4 separate regions of the Homo sapiens genome follow, and regions 2, 3 and 4 are each linked to region 1. Evidence: promoter capture Hi-C in human tissues and cell types (Jung and others, 2019). All regions are on one chromosome and are shown on one strand. The core of a region is centred on a gene start or on the middle of the fragment in contact, and the rest is flanking DNA. Distances in the headings are between cores, read along the strand shown.

Evidence for each region. Contacts are between HindIII fragments. The study calls those that stand out against the background at their distance.
Region 2: a contact is called between a fragment that was not itself captured here and the fragment with the promoter of PPP6R2 in region 1, in 1 of the 25 tissues and cell types used here (dorsolateral prefrontal cortex).
Region 3: a contact is called between a fragment that was not itself captured here and the fragment with the promoter of PPP6R2 in region 1, in 1 of the 25 tissues and cell types used here (spleen).
Region 4: the fragment with the promoter of KLHDC7B here is called in contact with the fragment with the promoter of PPP6R2 in region 1 in 2 of the 25 tissues and cell types used here (dorsolateral prefrontal cortex and spleen).

The regions. Positions count from the first base shown.
Region 1 is chr22:50,342,053-50,346,538 of GRCh38, reverse strand. PPP6R2 (protein phosphatase 6 regulatory subunit 2) reads right to left here and starts at 3,212. Exons shown (of 24, transcript NM_001242898.2): 1 at 2,989-3,212. RefSeq lists silencers at 2,952-3,031, 3,042-3,321, 3,592-3,761 and an enhancer at 3,858-4,486. The HindIII fragment of the contact is 17,181 bases long and covers 1-4,486 here.
Region 2 is chr22:50,189,816-50,194,762 of GRCh38, reverse strand. TRABD (TraB domain containing) reads right to left here. Exons shown (of 10, transcript NM_001320485.2): 2 at 1,670-1,736; 3 at 1,109-1,187; 4 at 257-423. The coding sequence starts at 1,702. Among named protein-coding and RNA genes, the nearest start is that of TRABD, 6.4 kb to the right of the region's middle. RefSeq lists enhancers at 2,024-2,113, 2,194-2,243, 3,004-3,153, 3,344-3,563, 3,834-4,193 and 2 more and a silencer at 2,804-2,853. The HindIII fragment of the contact is 4,938 bases long and covers 1-3,928 here.
Region 3 is chr22:50,147,351-50,151,891 of GRCh38, reverse strand. MOV10L1 (Mov10 like RNA helicase 1) reads right to left here. Exons shown (of 27, transcript NM_018995.3): 20 at 2,178-2,277; 21 at 993-1,157. Among named protein-coding and RNA genes, the nearest start is that of PANX2, 21 kb to the left of the region's middle. The HindIII fragment of the contact is 5,425 bases long and covers 1-4,541 here.
Region 4 is chr22:50,543,942-50,548,955 of GRCh38, reverse strand. It overlaps KLHDC7B (kelch domain containing 7B), which reads right to left and starts at 3,057. Exons shown (of 1, transcript NM_138433.5): 1 at 1-3,057. The coding sequence starts at 2,712. It overlaps KLHDC7B-DT (KLHDC7B divergent transcript), which reads left to right and starts at 9. Exons shown (of 4, transcript NR_199716.1): 1 at 9-60; 2 at 2,488-2,582; 3 at 3,561-4,169. RefSeq lists silencers at 1-21, 102-531, 4,442-4,736. The HindIII fragment of the contact is 12,740 bases long and covers 1-3,430 here.

The DNA of each region.
Region 1 (4,486 bases), core at 1,963-4,462:
GAACAGAAGGAGGGCACTGACTGGGGGGGCACTGACTGACTGGGAGGGAACTGACTGGAGGGGGCCCTGACTTGGGAGGAAACTGACTTGGGGGGCACTTACTGGAGGGGAACTGACTGGAGTGGGCACTGACTGGGGGCACTGATTTGGGGGGCACTGACTGGAGGGGGCACTGACGGGGGAACTGATTGCGGGGGGAACTGACTGGGGGGGCACTGACTGAGGGGAACTGACTGGGGGACACTGAAGGGGGCACTGACTGGGGGGAACTGACTAGGGGATGCACTGACTGGGGAGAACTTACTGGAGGGGCACTGACTGGAGGGGACAGTGACTGACTTGGGGGGGGCACTGACTGGGGGGCACTGACTGACTGGGGGAACTGACTGGAGGGGGAACTGACTGACTTGGGGGGCACTGACTGGGGGGCAACTGACTGGGGGAACTGACTGGAGGGGGCACTGACTGGGTGGGTCACTGACTGGAGGGTTCACTGACTGGGGGGAACTGACTAGAGGATGCACTGACTGGGGGGAACTGACTGGAGGGGGGCACTGACTGGGGGGGAACTGACTGGAGGGGGCACTGACTGGGTGGGTCACTGACTGGAGGGTTCACTGACTGGGGGGAACTGACTAGAGGATGCACTGACTGGGGGGAACTGACTGGAGGGGGGCACTGACTGGGGGGGAACTGACTGGAGGGGGCACTGACTTGGGGGGCACTGACTGGGGGGAAACTGACTGGAGGGGGCACTGACTGGGGGGGGGAACTGACCGGGGGGGGGGAACTGACTGGAGGGGGCACTGACTAGGGGGGCACTGATGGGGGGAACTGACTGGAGGGGGCACTGACTGGAGGGAAACTGACTGGGGGGAAACTGACTGGGGGGGAACTGACTGGAGGGGGCACTGACTGGGGGGAAACTGACTGGAGGGGGCACTGACTGGAGGGGGCACTGACTGGGGGGCACTGACTGGAGGGAAACTGACTGGGGGAAAACTGACTGGGGGGAACTGACTGGAGGGGGCACTGACTGGGGGGAAACTGACTGGAGGGGGCACTGACTGGAGGGGGCACTGACTGGGGGGCACTGACTGGAGGGAAACTGACTGGGGGGAAACTGACTGGGGGGAACTGACTGGAGGGGGCACTGACTGGGGGAACTGACTAGAGGGTGTACTGACTGGGGGGGGGAACTGACTGGAGGGGGCACTGACTGGGGGGGGAACTGACTGGAGGGGGCACTGACTGGGGGAAACTGACTGGAGGAGGCACTGACTGGGGGGGAACTGACTGGAGGGGGCACTGACTGGGGGAACTGACTGGAGGGGGCACTGACTTGGGGGGGAACTGACTGGAGGGGGCACTGACTGGGGGGAATTGACTGGAGGGGGCACTGACTGGGGGGCACTGACTGGGGGGAAACTGACTGGGGGGGCACTGACTGGGGGGAACTGACTGGAGGGGGCACTGACTGGGGGAAACTGACTGGAGGAGGCACTGACTGGGGGAAACTGACTGGAGGAGGCACTGACTGGGGGAAACTGACTGGAGGAGGCACTGACTGGGGGGAAACTGACTAGAGGGGGCACTGACTGGGGGGGAACTGACTAGAGGGGGCACTGACTGGGGGGGAACTGACTAGAGGGGGCACTGACTGGGGGGGAACTGACTAGAGGGGGCACTGACTGGGGGGGAACTGACTAGAGGGGGCACTGACTGGGGGGGGAACTGACTGGAGGGGGCACTGACTGGGGGAAACTGACTGGAGGAGGCACTGACTGGGGGAAACTGACTGGAGGAGGCACTGACTGGGGGGGAACTGACTGGAGGGGGCACTGACTAGGGGGAATTGACTGGAGGGGGCACTGACTGGGGGGCACTGACTGGGGGGAAACTGACTGGGGGGGCACTGACTGGGGGGAACTGACTGGAGGGGGCACTGACTGGGGGAAACTGACTGGAGGAGGCACTGACTGGGGGGAATTGACTGGAGGGGGCACTGACTGGGGGGAATTGACTGGAGGGGGCACTGACTGGGGGGCACTGACTGGGGGGAAACTGACTGGGGGGGCACTGACTGGGGGGGAACTGACTGGAGGGGGCACTGACTGGGGGAACTGACTGAAGGGGGCACTGACTGGGGGGGGAACTGACTGGAGGGGGCACTGACTGGGGGGAATTGACTGGAGGGGGCACTGACTGGGGGGCACTGACTGGGGGGCACTGACTGGGGGGAAACTGACTGGGGGGGCACTGACTGGGGGGAACTGACTGGAGGGGGCACTGACTGGGGGAAACTGACTGGAGGAGGCACTGACTGGGGGAAACTGACTGGAGGAGGCACTGACTGGGGGAAACTGACTGGAGGAGGCACTGACTGGGGGGAAACTGACTAGAGGGGGCACTGACTGGGGGGGAACTGACTAGAGGGGGCACTGACTGGGGGGGAACTGACTAGAGGGGGCACTGACTGGGGGGGGAACTGACTGGAGGGGGCACTGACTGGGGGAAACTGACTGGAGGAGGCACTGACTGGGGGAAACTGACTGGAGGAGGCACTGACTGGGGGGGAACTGACTGGAGGGGGCACTGACTGGGGGGAAACTGACTGGAGGGGGCACTGACTGGGGGGGAACTGACTGGAGGGGGCACTGACTGGGGGGCACTGACTGGGGGGAAACTGACTGGGGGGAAACTGACTGGGGGGGAACTGACTGGGGGGGAACTGACTGGAGGGGGCACTGACTGGGGGAACTGACTAGAGGGTGCACTAACTGGGGGGGAACTGACTGGAGGGGGCACTGACTGACTTGGGGGGGGCACTGACTCCGGGGGCACCGACTGGGGGGAACTGACTGGAGGGGGAACTGACTGACTGGGGGATAACTATCTGGAGGGGGCACTGACTGACTCGGGGAGAAGTGACTTGGGGGGCACTGGCAGACTGGGGGCCGGGTCTGAGCGGCGGGCGGCCGCACTCACCTGCCCTGCGGGCCGGGCGTCGCGGCAGCTCTTCGGAGGCCCGTGTGGAGGCCCGAGCGGAGGCCAGGGCGCTGGTGGAGGCAAAGCCCGGGCGGCCTCGGGCGGGCCGCACACACATGGGCCCGGCCGAGGGCGCAGCGCCTACGGACACCGGCACGGCCGGCCGGCGGCTCGAGACCGACTCGGGGCCGCGGGCGGCACTCCGATCGCTCCAAAATGGCGGCGGCGGCGCACGGGCACGCGCTCCGGGGGCGGGGTCTCCGCTTGGGGCGCGCACGCTCGCGGCCGGGGGCGGGGCCGCGCGGGTGGGCGGGGCCGGGACCTGGGCCGGCTCTCCGGGCCCCCTGGAGTGGGGCACTCGGTGAAACCCGCGTGGGAGCACGAGGGCTTGGGTGTGCTGACTGCTGCCTTGGAGTGGGTGGGGTAAGAGTGCGTCTTTCCCCTTTTACGTTTCCCTTTGAGGTATTGGCTAAAGTTTTGTGCAAGCATAGTTAATTTTGTTGTAGCCACAAAACAATCCTCGCGTGGCCCGACGCAGCATTTGAGAGACACACACCTGGGGCAGGGGTTTCCCCCGTGGCCCAGGAAAGGGCCTGTTCTCCCGGGCCTCCCTCCTGCCACAGGCCCCTCCCAGAGGCCGCGGGGCGTGGACGCCCCGAGCAGCAGGAGCGGGCTCAGCCCCGGGCGCCAGGCCTGGCCCCTCCCCGTCCCGCGTCCTGCCTGGACCCGGAGTGCCTGAGCCGCCTCCAGACAGTTTTCTCCAGGTGCGCTACGGGTTCTTGCACGGCGTTTTGCAAATTAAGTATGTGCCTATTTAACAAGTGCTGGAATTGTTTAATTCCATCAAAATAATTTCAAAAATGATTACTATTATTTCAGATGTTAGAGCGAGCCGTGGGTAAATGTTGGGAAAACATGGAGCACTTAAGGGATCTCTAAACGTTTTTTCCAGTTGTCAGTGTATTGCCCAGGATTCACCGATGCTCTCTGCGAAAGCGTATCTGGGCGGCTCAAATATTCGGTATTTCTCTTTTGCCAGCTGGCGCTGTTAGGCTTTGTCGGTAGAGGGCGCCAGAGACGTTGCAGGAGAAAAGGGCTTGGCCCTGCGGCTGGCGGCCCCGGGCTTCCCCGACGCCTGTCCCCTGCCCTGGTCAGCAGCACCCTCCTCGCCGGTTTTATAGCAGATGCCTCTGGCGAGCCTTTCCCCAGCAAAAGCTTTTCCCCTAGCATCCTAAGGGGCAGATTTCTGGCAGGTTCCGTTGAGGGAACTTCCAGGAAGTGGGGGTGAAAAAGCCTCAGCCTCACAACCTAGAGAAGAGACACCCTGCGTTCAGCAGGCTATGCCCTTCTCCTGCCCTCACCATGGTCTCCTTTGCAGGAGCGGGAGGTGCTGCTGAGTTGAGCTACGGAATGGGGACTGGGGCCAGGGGCACCAGATGCAGGAGATGCTCCTGCTGCCGTGAGCACGTGCAACTCTGCCTGATCTTGATACCCCTCC
Region 2 (4,947 bases), core at 210-2,709, 150 kb after region 1:
AGTGACAGCTCAATTCTCTAAGCGACGAGAGAGGAAGCTGTGAGGCTTGTTCACTTGTTAAGTGGGAAAACGCACAAGGCCGTCACGGCTCCCAGGCAGGAAGCCCACCTTGCCACTCCCAGGGACCACAGTGTTGAAGCAGGAGGCCTGCGGTGCGCACACACGGGCACACGGGCCCTGCCGGGAGGTCCCTGAGTGCAGGACACAGGAGCTTACACCAACCCGTGTCCGGGATGTGGCGGGTGGCGGCGCTCACCTTCACAACGTCCCTCTTGCTGTCGTCGCTGAAGTGGGCTGTCCCCACCACGTACACCCTGCTCCCGTCCTCAGCCACCAACTGGGTCACAGTGCGCGGCAGGTTGGGCCGCTGACGCCGCCGCTTCAGCTTCATCTCCAGGAGCAGGTTGAAGGCGTCCACGTCGGCTGCAACAGCAGCACAGGCCGTTGTGGTGCCGGGCCCACCCCAAGGACGCCGCCGGGCCCGCTGGCAGCCTGGGCTCTAGAACCCTCCTGGGTTCTGAGAACTGAACAGGTGCAGAGCACAAGACTCCTGACGAGCGTCACACTCCACAGGCTTTGCCTGCCCAGTGATGGGAACACCGGCTACCACCTCTGTGAGCTGCACGGCTTCGAGAAGCCAGGGCCTCAGGAGTCCTGTGCCCCATACACCCCATGAGGGCGACCTTGGGGGTTGCTGTGGATGAGGTTCGGTGTGGGGGACAGTGGGGGCAGGTGCCGCAGGGGGCTCAGCTAGGGGAGGGGCTCTGAGGCGAAATGGGCCCCCCCACCCCACTCAGGAGGGACAGGCTGAGGCCACAGCAAGGAGGGACTCCCGTGCCGCTCACACTGCTTGTGCTCACGAGCCCCCCATGCCCAGGGGCCTGCCTGTGCTGCTTGCAGCCCCTCCAAGAGGCTCCACTGCCAGGCAGGGCCCAGGAGCAGCTGCTGTTGGGTGGCACCAGGCCTAGCAGCACCTACCTCAGGTCTCGGCCAGGGCCCCTGCTCACCACAAGCTCCAAGCCCCTGGCAGTGGTTGGCTGCCTCCCCCTCCTCCCTGACTCAACAGCCCAACACCGGGGAACGTGCCAGGACCCTGAGGGACACGTACACAGGTTCTGGGGGTCTCCAGAAAGCACCCTGGGCACCGGCTCTGAAGCCTCTGACGGCACAACAGGTTCCACGTTGGCCTGCAGGTGGAAAGGAGAGTTCAAGTCAGGGTCCATGCACCCCAGAAAGCCAGGGCTCCGTGGCAACTCCACGGACCACGTACCCTGGAAAGGGACCCGTGGCCGCTGTGTGGACCACACACCCTGAAAAACGAGGGCCCGTGACCGCTCCACGGACCACGTACCCGGGAAAGGGACCCGTGGCCGCTCTGTGTACCACACACCCTGAAAAGCAGGGCCTCCGTAGAGCCTAGGCCCCACACTGTCAGTACCCCTCCTGCTTGGCCATCACTGGCACGGCTGCCATCAAGCTGGGCAGACAGGGCCACCAGGCCACCTCAGCCCAGCGCCCCTCTCCCTCGGAGGTGCCTCCTGCCTGACCCTGGAGAACCCTGTGAAGATCACCTTTGCAGAACAACAGCCAGGGACCGACCCCGAGAGCCCACAAAGCGGGGAAGCCCCCCGCCCCTGTCTCTGTGCAGCCAGCCCAGCCTCCACCTCACCTCGTGCGGTGGCTGCTGCTCCTCCCCGTCCATGGCTGGGCGGCGGCTTCCTGCACCTGTGGGGAGCCTGAGGAGAGGCATGAGAGGCGGGGTTTCCACCTGGAGCCCCAGACCTGGCTCAGGACTCACTGCGTAGTGCCCTGTCAGTCTAGAACCATCTGTTGGGTGGGCCTGGGGGCTCCTTCCCCCATATCCCCAAATGCCTCCTGCCCATCAAAGGCTGCTGAGGTCCAGGGTCGGTTCAGGTCAGGCCCGGGTGGGGAAAGGCCAGCAGGTCCCCAGACACCCCAGCATAAACCAAACGCAGACGGGCCCAGGGCGGGTTGCTGGTGCACAGGCCTCACTCAGAACAGGGCCAGAGCTGCCCAACCCTCACTGCGGCACGGCGGGCACACATAGGAAGGCAGCCCTGGGGTCCACACATGATCTCAGGACACAGCAACGCAGCTGCTGACACATGGCAAGGACCCCAGGGCCTTTGTACAAAAGCCACTTCCCCTTTCAGTAACTACAGCCTGGGCAACAACACCGGCACAGAGTCAGTACAGACGGAGGAATCCACAAAGCACACAAATCAACGTGTTTGGACCTAAGACCTTCTCTCCCACTTTAAGAGACAAACATGGTGTGGAAGGAACCACGGTAGAAACCCGGACAGGCTGGGGCAGCCACACGAGGGGGCTGCCCCGAGGCATCACAGCTCCCCACAGACTCTCAGAAACCAGGAGCTCAGGCCGGGGGCCCAGGAGCCTGAGGGAAGGAAGAAAACAGCCAGGCGCCTGCAGCACCAGAGGCACGCACCGGCCAAGACCCACAGAGCATCGGCGAGACCTGCGCGGAGCCCCTCGAGGCGGGGCCAGGGACCAGCAGGCTGTCCTGAGACTGGCCACAGGCCCTGCTGCACCATGTGGCTCTTCCTGAATGTTCTCAGCCACGGAATGCCAGGAGTGACTGTTTACCAAGTTAATGGCTCATGCATGTCCTGGCGGATGGATGTGTCACCAGGCAGAATCATTAAAATATCCCAAACAGGCCAGGCGCGGTGGCTCACACCTGTAATCCCAGCACTTTGGGGGGCCAAGGTGGATGGACTGCCTGAGCTCAGGAGTTCGAGACCAGCCTGGCCAACATAGACCATCCTGGTGAAACCCCATCTCTACCAAAAATACACAAATTAGCCAGGCGTGGTGGTGCACACCCGTAATCCCAGCTACTGGGGAGGCTGAGGCAGGAGAATCACTTTGAACCCGAGAGGCTGAGGTTGCAGTGAGCCGAGATCCTGTCACTGCACTCCAACCTGGGTGACAGAGGGAGACTCTGTCTCAAGAAAAAAACAAAAGTAAAAAATAAAAATGAGCCGTTGGAAACCATTCTGAGCTGTCTAGTCGTGCAAGGTATTGTGGTTTTGTCTTGAAGCGTCTGCGTCAGTCAGACACGAGCATCTGGCGAGGAAACGACGGGGCTTGTAGGATGTGCTTCAGAGGGGCCACTGCCGGGTTCTGCACTGATGCCTGCGTGCATCTGGGGTCATTTTCATGTCACTACTGCTGCCCACTTCTCAGAACTCATAAGAAAAAGGAACAATGAGCAATAAGACGCTATGTCAGGTTCCTTTCCTCTGCAAACCCTGTTGGCACACAGCCACAGCAGGCACAGACCTCGGCCCCAGCCAGGACTCACAGACCCAGCTGGGTCCTGGCCACCCACATCCAAGTTAAGATGCCTCCAAGCTTGGGTGTCCTAACCTGTGAACAGGAAGGAGCTCTCTGTGCAGTGTCTAGGAGGGCAGCTCAGGGGCTGGGGGAGCAGGGACGGCTCTGAGCAGGGGAAGAGGCCTGTCTCAGTGCAACCAGAGGCCCCATCTGAAGCTGGCCGAGAAGAGGGCAGCCCACCCTGCCCTCTTCTTGGACAGCCGGGACTTCTGGGAGAGGAACTGGCCTGGCTTGGGGTGGGTGGTGCAATGGGGCCATGGTCGGGGGAGGTCAGCTGAGACTAAGGAGACAGCTGATAAACACCAGGCTCATGTCCCCGGGGGCCTTGAGCCTCTGCAGAGGGCAAGGGGGGCCCGCTCCACAGGCAGGCTCCCCTATGGGGCCTCACAGCCTTGGCAGGGGGTCCCACTCCTTGCCACCTGGGCTTGAGTCTGGACCCAACCCTGGCCTGGGCGTCTTAGCGGTTGGCACATCCAGGAAGTGCAGCTGGCACCGGTCACAGCAGGACCAGGCCCCGGACCCTTGGGCCGCCTCCTTCCCCTTTTGTAGGTGAAAGCTCCACGATGCAACCCGACCGGAACCCACCGGAAGCTGTTGTGAGCAGCCGCCAGGCCAGCCAGCCCAGACAAGCACCCGGTCCGGGAGACGGCCGCCTCCCTGGGTCTAGCTACACACACAAGCCAGAACTCTTAGGAGCAGCGCAAGACTGCCGGGGCGCACGGGGGAAACTCACACACGGAAGTCCGGACCATTAGAGCAGCGCAAGGCTGCCGAGGCACACCGGGGAAACTCCTTAAAGAAACTCCTGTGCAGCCGGGCGGGAGGCTGCGTCGGCCCAGCCAACAGGAGGCGCCCACGTCGCCACAGCCCTTCCCCCATGGGTGTGGCAGCCCCAGGTCTGCGGTCAGCCCCCACCCTCCACCCAGCCTGGCCAGACCCGCCTCTGAGGCCGGCCTAGGGTACGCCTGTGGCCATGGACAGGGCAGGGTCTCGGTGCAGCAGCAGGCGCTGGTCCTGACCCCAGTCGTGCCATGGGGTGGGCGTGCACAGGTCTCCTGTCAGGGAGGGCAGAGAAGCTTTCCTGGGCCGGCTGCCAAGCCTTGAGCAGGACGATGTCAGCGCCACCAGAGGCAGTGCCAGCCCCCAGCCCTGGCCCCTGCAGCCTCTCAGCAGAGGCGTGCTGCCCGCAGGGAGCCAGGCGGGAAGGTCACTGAGGACCCCCCAGCACCTAAAGCCCGTGATTCTGGGGGACGTCTCTGACAGTCACTCTTACAGTCTCAACACTCTCTTTCCCTCCTCGCCAAGGCCCCTGGAGAGCTCTAGGGTGTGATTTCAGGTTACCAGCCCTCCTCCCTCTAGTCTGCTCCCAGGCAGCTGTGCTCTCAGACATTTATGGCTGGGCCCAGAGCCTCTCCCAGCTGCCTGGCGGTGAGCAAAAGGCCCTGGCCCAAAAGCCACAGATGCTGAGCCTGGACTCTGAAGTGTCTTCAGAGACAATGTCTGAAGAACCCCCACCTGGTTCCCAGCCCCACAACCTCTGGGTCCCAGCAGAGCATCACCTGGGGT
Region 3 (4,541 bases), core at 1,020-3,519, 190 kb after region 1:
GGCCCCACACAGGACAAGGCCTTCACCTCCCGTGCGGCAGGGTCTTTCTGTACCTGTGGCCCTGTGCTGTATGCACCTGCCCTGAAGGCTGTGTGGTGGGGACGGCAGCGTGCTGGTCTCTCCTGCTGCGGCCACGTCACCTGCACCCACACCTCCAGCAAAGCAGCTAGCGGGTACAGGCGCACAGCGGCACTGGAGGATGAGGCGAACCTCCGGGGGACAGCAGAGCTCTCAGGCGCCCTCTGGGCCCAGCAGCTGCTCACGGCCGGCCATCTTCCTGGGGGCAGTTTCATGGCCTCCTGGCACAGCCGGTCCTGTCTTGCGGGTAGTCCCTCATGAGGCCTTCCTTGGCCTGAAGACCCCCACCTGCTCCCTACCCTTGACAACCAAGAATGGGGTCCAGTCCTTTTCCCTGAAAGTCTGCCCATGGTAACTGCCCCTCATTTTCTATTGATGTTAATACTGGCAATGGGAATCAGATGGAGACTGTTTTTCTGTGGGCTACAGGGGCTTACAAACTGAGGCTACTTGGTTCACTGTTGAATGATGGGCCCTGGAGGCCCAAGCTCAGTGTGCTGGGGGCTCCAAAGATGCAAATCCCAAAGCCCATCCCTCAGAATTTGGTGCAAGGTTGGCTGAGAGCCCAGACCTGCACTTCAGTGGGACCTTGGGGTCAGAGACCACTGAGGAGACACTGCCTGCAGTCACTCTAGGGCAGGCTTTTTAAGTCACAAAAATTATTTCTTGCTTTTCTTAACGTTAACAGAGTAACACAGATTTTAACTTATTTTACTGAATCTGACCCCAGAGTCTCAGCCATCAGCACCAGGCTGCAGTTTCTGCTGACGGGGGAGGTGCTATGGTGGGTGCTCCCCTGCACTCTGCCCACGGATGGAGATGACTCAGGTGGACAGAAGAGTGAGCTGCTCGACTGCCCTGGAGCCTGTGTCTGCTTAGCTGGGGACCTGAACGCGCTGGAGTCTGTGACTCACCAACAGGGGATTATGTGCGCCACAAGCACCGAAAGCATTTTCGTCCCTCTGGTACGCGGGTCGAGACATCAGCCGTTCCAAAAAGGACACGTTCAGCCCATAGGCCATGGCGAGTCTGGACTTAATGACTGGGCCGAGCTGCATGGGGTCTCCTGCCAGCACGATCTGCACACAGAGGGCCCGTCTCAGCTCATGCAGGGAGGGTGCCGCTGCCACTCCTACGGGCTCAGGTGGGAATGGGGCTGTGCGCAGGATGGCCCCATGCTCACTCTTGCTGCAGGGGACGACGGGAGGGACTGGGAGACCAGGGAATGCCGACAGGGCTTGGAGCCGTCTCTCCCCGCTTCCCCCTGAAGTCCTGCCATCTGCCTCCCCGAAGTCCTGCCATCTGCCCGGCTTCTGCAGCCTGGTTTTCTCTCCTGCGAATCTCTCAAAGTGGTAAGAGCCCCAAGGATGCCGTCTATCTTCTGGAAGCTTCTGCATGGCTGGCCCTGGCCGCCATCCCACCTGCCCCTTGCCTCTTGCCCATGGTTGCCTTGACCTGGTCAGGCCGCCCTATGCCGCTGCTCTGCCTGGACCAGTCCCTGCTCCCTCCCTAGGCGTCACCTTCATGCTCCGCCCCACAGTGCCTGGTGACTGGGACAGACATCTAGGATGGGTGCCAAGGAGGACCCTGAAATGTCCAGTGCTGGACACTGGATGAGCTCGCCTGGATGAGCCACAGTGAGAGAACCAGGGAAGTTCAAGGTGATGCCCACGCCACCATCAGAAGCACTCGGGGAGGAAGCAGGTGGGAGCAGAGAACAGAGGATGCACAGAGCTGGAGGCCAGGGCAGCCTGAGGGGCAAGTGGGTCAGATGCAGGAGCACTGGCCCTGTCCGCCCCTCCAGGCACTGAACGGCCGGCTCACCCAGAGCAGGGACCACATTCCTGACTTTACCGCTGTATCCCCAACACCTAGAATGGCTCTTACCTCCGTTTTACAAGTAAATGAGTCAAGACATTCACTTCTAGTCCAAAAGGAATAAAGTACAATAGAGACCCATGGCCCCCAACACCTCGGGGTCCTTGGCACTTCCACCTGACCCCTGTACAGCTGTGACTGTTCCCGGCAGGATCGCAGCCTGCATCCCCTCAGGAGAACGGGGTGAGGAGGAAGCAGCACACACAGTAGTCGGGACTTACCTGGCCACTGATGTCCGACATCAGCCCCAGAGGAATGAGGCATTCCGGCTCACTTGCCTGCCCAGCCTCGTCCACAAACACGTGAGTGAAGTGCCCAACTCTAGAGCAAAGATGTTCTAAATGGTAATTTCTGCCGAATTGTTTTAGCAATTGATGCCTCTGACACACTGGCAAAGCCACGCTCAGCACCCCGGGGGCACAGCAGGGTTGCCCAGGGGTGTGCAGGAGCTGGGGGTCTGGGTGTCACCCGGCTGGAGGGAGGACAGGCCACAGGTGTCAGGAGATGCTAAGCCACATCAGCACCCAGTGCTTTGCACGCAGCGTCTGTATTTCTAGAGATGTGGAGGGAAGAAGGGGTGGGAGCGATGGGCAACACACGAGCGCCTCCTGGGGGCAGCTCACAGGAGAAGCGCCGCAGGCTCCTGGCCTGCTCTCCACCTGCGTCTCACTCCTGTCATTATCAAAATGCCCAGGCTCTAGTCCTGACTTCCCCTCTCTGAGCCTCCACCTCCCACGTGTCTCTCGGGAGGTGGCTGAGGTGAGAGCAGCTGAACTGGCCGCTGTAAAGCGCTGAGAACAGGCCTGGCCATGCAGGCGGCCACAGATGGCAGCCTCTCCTGCCATCCGCTCATTTCCTCCTGACTCATCCTTGTGAGCCACTCTCAGCTGGGCACTGCCTGGCCTGCATGCCAATAGGCTGAGGCCCTGGGAGCCACTTCCCAATCTGCGGCACCATTAAGAAAATGGGGTTGGTCGGGCGCAGTGGCTCACGCCTGTAATGCCAGCACTTTGGGAGGCCGAGATGGGTGGATCACGAGGTCAGGAGATCAAGACCATCCTGGCTAACACGGTGAAACCCCGTCTCTACTCAAAATACAAAAAAATTAGCCGGGTGTGGTGGCGGGCGCCTGTAGTCCCAGCTACTCGGGAAGCTGAGGCAGGAGAATGGCGTGAACCTGGGAGGCGGAGCTTGCAGTGAGCTGAGATCGCGCCACTGCACTCCAGCTTGGGTGACAGAGCAAGACTCCATCTCATAAAAAAAAAAAAAAAAGAAAAAAAGAAAATGCGGTCTCTAGAATGGCTCCCCACAATTCTGGCCCCTGCTGCAAACTCAGTGAGGTTCCCAGCTACAGAGCAGCCCTCCTGGCGGGTACCTGTCCGGCTCTTCCTTCTCCGTGTGACAAGGGAGGTAAGGGAGGTGCAGGAGCAGAGAGTCCACAGCGTTGCTGATGGACGGGGTGGGGATTTTGCGGGAAGGAGTCGTCAGGAGAAGCTGCGGAACTCTTGCATGGGAAGGCTGTGGGACTGAGCGGAGAGCAGGAGCTCGCTCGGCACATGATCTGTTTCTAGAGTGCAGAGGGGCCACCCCACCTGGGGCCATGAGCTGAGGAACAGGTGCCCCGGCTTCCCTGGCTCGCCCACCCCAGCAGCTTCTGCTCTGTGGTCAGGAGGCCTCAGTGGGGAAATGCTCTTGGGGCAGAAACATGTCCTGATGCCTGAGGAAGCAGGTATGGGGCAGAGAGAGTGTCCGGAGCCACGCCAACACTCAACAGGACGCACCTTGGGCCCGCACCGTCCTCACTGCCGAGCCCACGTTTACCCTTCTCACTGCTGATTCCAGGATCTCCCCTCTCCAACCCTAGATGCTGGGCAAATCCATCACCTCTGAGCCTCAGGTGTCCCACTGTGGGGTGAGACCCTGTGGTCAGACCTGTGCGGGGGCGGGCTCCTGCTTACAGCAGTGCTGGGCCCAACATGTCCTGCATCCACTCACGGTCAGCTGACACCTTTCACTTCAGGTATCAATGTGTAACTCTCAAGACACGGATTTCACAAGTGACACCGTGAACCCCTCCCAGTGAAAGATGTGGAAATCAGCAAACTGCCATTTCCCCATCTCATGTCCCTATTTCTGTTGAAAAAAATTAACATTATGTATCTTTCCTAGAATGTAAGTATTTAGGTTTCAATTCTGTATTAATTGCAGTTATTTAATGTCACTTTTGCCAGATGACATTGCTACTTCTTTGCCCTTTGAAGTGCCCCTCCCCACTCCAGCCGCCCCCAGTGGCCAACTAACGCTGTGGGGCCTCTGCAGCTGGGCTGCAGCACCCTCCCTGCTTCTGCACAGAGCGCCTCTGAGAGAGCGGCCTGCAGCACCCTCCCTGCTTCTGCACAGAGCGCCTCTGAGAGAGCGGCCTGCAGCACCCTCCCTGCTTCTGCACAGAGCGCCTCTGAGAGAGCGGCCTGCAGCACCCTCCCTGCTTCTGCACAGAGCGCCTCTGAGAGAGCGGCCTGCAGCACCCTCCCTGCTTCTGCACAGAGCGCCTCTGAGAGAGCGGCCTGCAGCACCCTCCCTGCTTC
Region 4 (5,014 bases), core at 1,808-4,307, 200 kb before region 1:
CAGCCGGCGGTAGAGGCACGGGTCTCCCAGCACTCGCAGCAGGTTGTCGCTCATCAGCGCGTAGGTCTCCTGCGCCAGGCCGGGCTCTCCGTGCTGCTGGGCAAAGGCCAGCACGTCCAGGCAACTGCCCAGGTCCAGCCGCCGCCGCAGGGCTGCCGCCGTGGCGGGCTCCAGGGCCCGGGAGCTGGGCTTCCGGGGCCCCTCCACCACCCCCCAACCCCCGGGCCTCTGCAGAAACACCATGAGCTTCCGGGCCTCCTCCTGCTTTTCCGTGAGCGCCCCGCTGCGGCCGGCAGGGCTGCCCCCCTCCCCCGGCGCCTCCCCTTGAGGGTCCCCCGAGGCGGCCGGCCTGACCTCCTGCTCCGAGCTCGGGGCGATTTCGCACCTGCTGCGTTTCCGTAGCTGGGGTACCGGCTGTGAGCGCCTCGCAGAGGAGGAGGCCGCGGGGCCAGGCGGCCTCTGCGCGGGGGGCTGTGCGGGGCCCCTGGGCATCGCGGCTTGGGGCAGCGGGTCTAGACTTTTCTCCCTGGTTCCCTCTCCTCTTAGGCCTGGGGGAGGGTCTGGGCTGGGCGATCCGTTGGTCTCGGAGCTTCTTGGCTGTGGCTGACCTCCAGCCTCAACCAGGCCCCCTGTACCTGTCCCTATGACTGTCCCCACTGAAGAAGAGGGGCCGTGTCTGTCCTCAGAGTGTGTGGAAGTGCTGGGACCCACGGGGCTCCCGGGAACCGCCCTCGGGACACTCCCTTGGGGCCTGTCTTGCCTGGGGAAGGGGTGGCTTCTAAGAACCATGGCAATAAGGTTTCCCCAGCTGGCTGAGACCTGCCCCTCCTGGTAGCGCCTGGGGAGAGCCACACTCTCCTGAGGCTTTGACCCGTCAGCTGGGGCAGGGGATGCGGCTGGGGTTGGGGTTGGGGCTGAGGTGGGGGCTGGGGCAGGGGATGCGGCTGGGGTTGGGGCTGGAGTTGGAGCTGGGCTTAGGGCTGGGGTTGGGACTGGGGTTAGGGCTGGGGATGCGGCTGGGGTTAGGGCTGGAGTTGGAGCTGGGCTTAGGGCTGGGGTTGGGACTGGGGTTAGGGCTGGGGATGGGGGTGTGAGGGTTGGGACTGGGACTGGGGCTGGGGCTGGAGTTGCGGCTGCAGCTGGACTTGGGGCTGGGGCTGGGGTTGAAGTTGGAGCTGAGGTTGGAGCTGGGGCTGGGGCTGAGGTGGGGGATGAGGTTGAGGTGGTGGCTGAGGTTGGTGCTGAGCTGGGGGATGAAGCCAGGGCTGGGGCTAGGACTGAGGCTGGAGCTGAAGTTAAGACTTGGGCTGAGGCTGAACTTGGGGCTGGCGCCGCTCTGAGATTTTCGCCCACGGAAGGATCCTGGGTAACCTCCAGGGGCAAAAAGTCTGAAGGAGAGGGGAGAGTCAGGGCTTCAGGTGGGAACCCCGGGCCGGGAGCTGCGGGCGGGGAGGCGGAGCGCGGGCGAGGCTCACGGCTCCGGGAGGGCGCGCGGCTGTGGCCGGCTGCAGCCGGCTTTGCTTGCTCCGGGGGCCGGGTGGGCCCCAGGTCAGCGGCAGGACTGTTATCTCGGGAGCTGTCAGCCCCGGCCTCGCCGGCATCGTAGGCCCCTGTGGCACCCGGCCCTTGGGACGAGAGTGGGCGACCTTGAGGCGGACTCTCTAGCCAGGGGCGCGTGGAGTCTGGGGCTGGGCCAAAGCTCCGGGTGCCCGGGACCTCCCTGCTGACCCAGGGCCAGCCTCCTCCGGGGGCAGGGACCCCCGAGGCCTCCCTGCTCCAGCCACCCTTGGCCCCAGAGCCTTCCGTCTGAGACCCAGGCTGCAGGGCGCGGGGAGCGGGCAGCGCCGGGAGTGCGGGCTCCTGGGCGAGTGGGGGTCCTGTGGGGAGGCCGCGCGCGTGGGCGTCCAGGGCGGCGGCCCCGTCCACCGCGTCCCACACGCTCCCCGCGGCGCCCAGGCGGAGCGGGTCCAGTTTCCGGGGGCGGCGGGCTCTGTCTCCCGAGCCAGCGTCCATCCGCCGCCGCCGGCCCCGGCCTCTCCCCATCGAGCCCGAGGGCCCCGCGCCCGCCTGCCAGGGGCCAGTGTCCTGTTGCCCCGCGGGGCCTGCGGCCTGGCGAGAGGACGCCCTGACACCACCTGTCTCCGCCTCCGCTTCGCTGCCAGGGCTCCGAGGAGTGAAGTGGATCAGGAGGGGGGCGGACATCCCCCCTGCTTCGCTCCTGCCCAGGAGGGCAGTGCCTGGCCTGGGAGGCTCCTTTCCTTCCGCTCGGGGGGCCGCGGGGGTGGCACTGCCCCGTTGCTGTCCTAATGCCTCTCTGCGGGCCTCCTCGACAGCCGTCTTGAGTGGAAGCCGGGCCATGGCGGCCAGGCCCCCGCCCGGCGCTGCAGCAGGGACAGGGCTCTGCTGGCCGCGTCCTGGGGGCTCTGGTTTCCCCTGCCCTGGGCTCTGCCCCTCGCTGCCATCACTGACCTTAGACTTCGGTTGCAGGGCCAGCTCAGCTCCTCCTGCCTGATGAGGTTGAGCCCCGAGGGCTGTGGACACCGGTTCTGCCGCCTCTTGATCGTGCCCGGAGCCAAACCAGTGTAAGGCCAGCGCTGTGGCAGCCACCACAGCCAGCGCCAGGAGGGCCAGCACAGCACTATCCCAGTCATTGTCACTGTCCCAGTCCCAGCCCCAGAGGGGACCATCTGGCTCCAAGGTGCCCTGGATCATGGTTCAGGGCTGCAATAGAGGCCTGATGGCAGGCTGGCAGTGCATGCAGAGCACAGAGGCCTGGGCTGAGGCACCGGCCAGCGCCTGCCCCAAGGGCTGCCCAGTTAAGGTGGACCAGTCCTCCAGGGCCTGGGAATGGTGGGGTCTCTGCTTGCACTCAGGCCTGGGGGTGTCAGTAGGGCCTGGCTGCAGATATCAGGAGACAGCGAGGCTTATGGCAGGATAGGAGCCCAGGGTCTCTGCAAGCACCCCACCAGCTCCTGCCCTCTTCTCCTCCTCGTAGGCCCCAGGGTCCTCAGGCAGCGTTCCTGAGCTCTGTGCTGTCATCACAGCCAACCTGCTTCTGCCTGGTAGACCCTCACACCCCTAAATTTATTCCACACCCCACAGTCCCTCCTCTCAGCCTGGGCCCAGCTTCAGGGGGCTTGGCAGGGAAGGGTTACCCACAGGGAGATGTTATCTCTAGCTCTAGCAATGTGATGTGGCCCTGATGAAATCACCAGAAACCGGAGAGGCTGATTCCACTGTGGGCCAGCAGGGGAGGGGTGGGGGCCGTGCACGGGAGGGTGCAGGCTGTGCCTGACGGTGGTCTCTCAGGCTGAAGAGGGAGACCCTGGACACGGGTCCTGGCAGTGAGCATTATCATTGCAGGGGTGCTGTGGAGGTTTGTACTGGGGCACAGGGAGGGGGCATAGAGAGGAGACTGAGGCTCCCATAGCTCCTCCTCCAGCAGCTTTTGGACTCCTTACTCTGGGTTTACCAGACATGGGATAGGGTTATCAAGTCAAGAGAAAAAAAAAATTAATGGGATAAATAAAATCCAAACATATTTCTCTCTTTATGGCCAGGCTTATTTCAGCCCACCTAGACCTTCTAGGATCTCCTGGACCCCCTGCGCCCATCGAGAGTGTCTTGACTGCCCAGATGAGACTCTCACTGTGCCCCTGGAGAACCCTGAGCCCAGCCTGCCCCCTACTCCAGTTACCGCATCAGCCAGCACCTGGATCCCTTAGAAACCACCCCCCTCTGGCCCCAGGTGCTCTAATAGCCAGACTCTGGGTGTCTTCATCTCAGTCCTCAGCCTTCCCTTATCTGAGCTGAGGACTCGCCCTCGAGACCACATCCTGGCTGGTACCTCCTAGCCCTGGCTCAGGCCGGCATGTAGGTACTTCTGTTGGATGTGAGCACTTGCTTCCTGAGGGAGAAGCCTGGGCTCCTCCACCTGCTCCTTGCTTAATCCCATCTCAGGAGTGTCTCGGGCCAGGTGCCAGGTGAGGCTCAGACAAGAAAAAGAGCCTGGAGTCCCTGGGACAAAGGCAGGGCTCCCTGGAAAGTACCGTGTGTATTTTTCCTTCCTCTGGGACACAGCAGGCCTGGGGATTTCTCCCTTACTCAAGCAGCAAGGAGATGGCCTAGGAGTGTCCCTGGCACCCAGCCTGAACCCTACTGAGCCTCAGGTAACTCACCTCCCAGCTCCCCCTGGGACTATTAGATGACAGGGAGAGGGTGAGGGTGGGCCCCATGCCTTAAGGTGGACCTCAAGTTGAGGGAAGGCTTTCTAGACCGTGCCCTTATTCTCTGTCCCAGTCTCAGGCTCTGCCTCTTGGTTAAGTTTGGGGTCCAGAAACCTTCAGAGGATGGAGATGACACCCATAAATATTAGAGACTGAGTAGGGGGCGGGAAGCGGTGGCGGCAGCGCACCCCCGGGGTGCAACTGCCCTGGAACTCCAAGTGGTGGCTTCAAAACTGGATTAAAATTTATTTCCGCGAAACCCTGGAGTCACGGTCCGGCGCCGACTGGCGTTTTCTGCCGTAGACTGAGAACGCGTCAGGGATGGCTCCGTTGGCAGCGCGCGCGAGCGCCCCCGGGCCGCGCCTGGAGGGTTGACAGCGACTCGCGGGCGAACTGTGAACCCGCAGCCCCTGGGCTCCGAGCGCAAACCTGGCGACTGGGAGGGCCCGGGGAGCGGGTGAGCCAGCGCCAGCCCCGCCGGCCCCAGGAGCGCGAATTTCTCTACATTTCCGGCTGTGGCCGCAGTTGGAGGATGGGATCAAAACGGGCAAAAAAGTGCGACCTGGGCCGAGGTGTCGGATCGCCTCGAGGTGGGAGGCCGAGGTGTTGGATCGCCTGAGGTCAGCAGTTCGAGACCAGCCTGGCCGACAGGGAGAAACCCTGTCTTTACCGAAAATAGAAAAATTAGCCGGGCGTGGTGGCGGGCGCCTGTAATCCCAGCTACTCCAGAGGCTGAGGCAGGAGAATCGCTTGAACCCGGGGAGTTGCAGTGAGCCGAGATCGCGCCA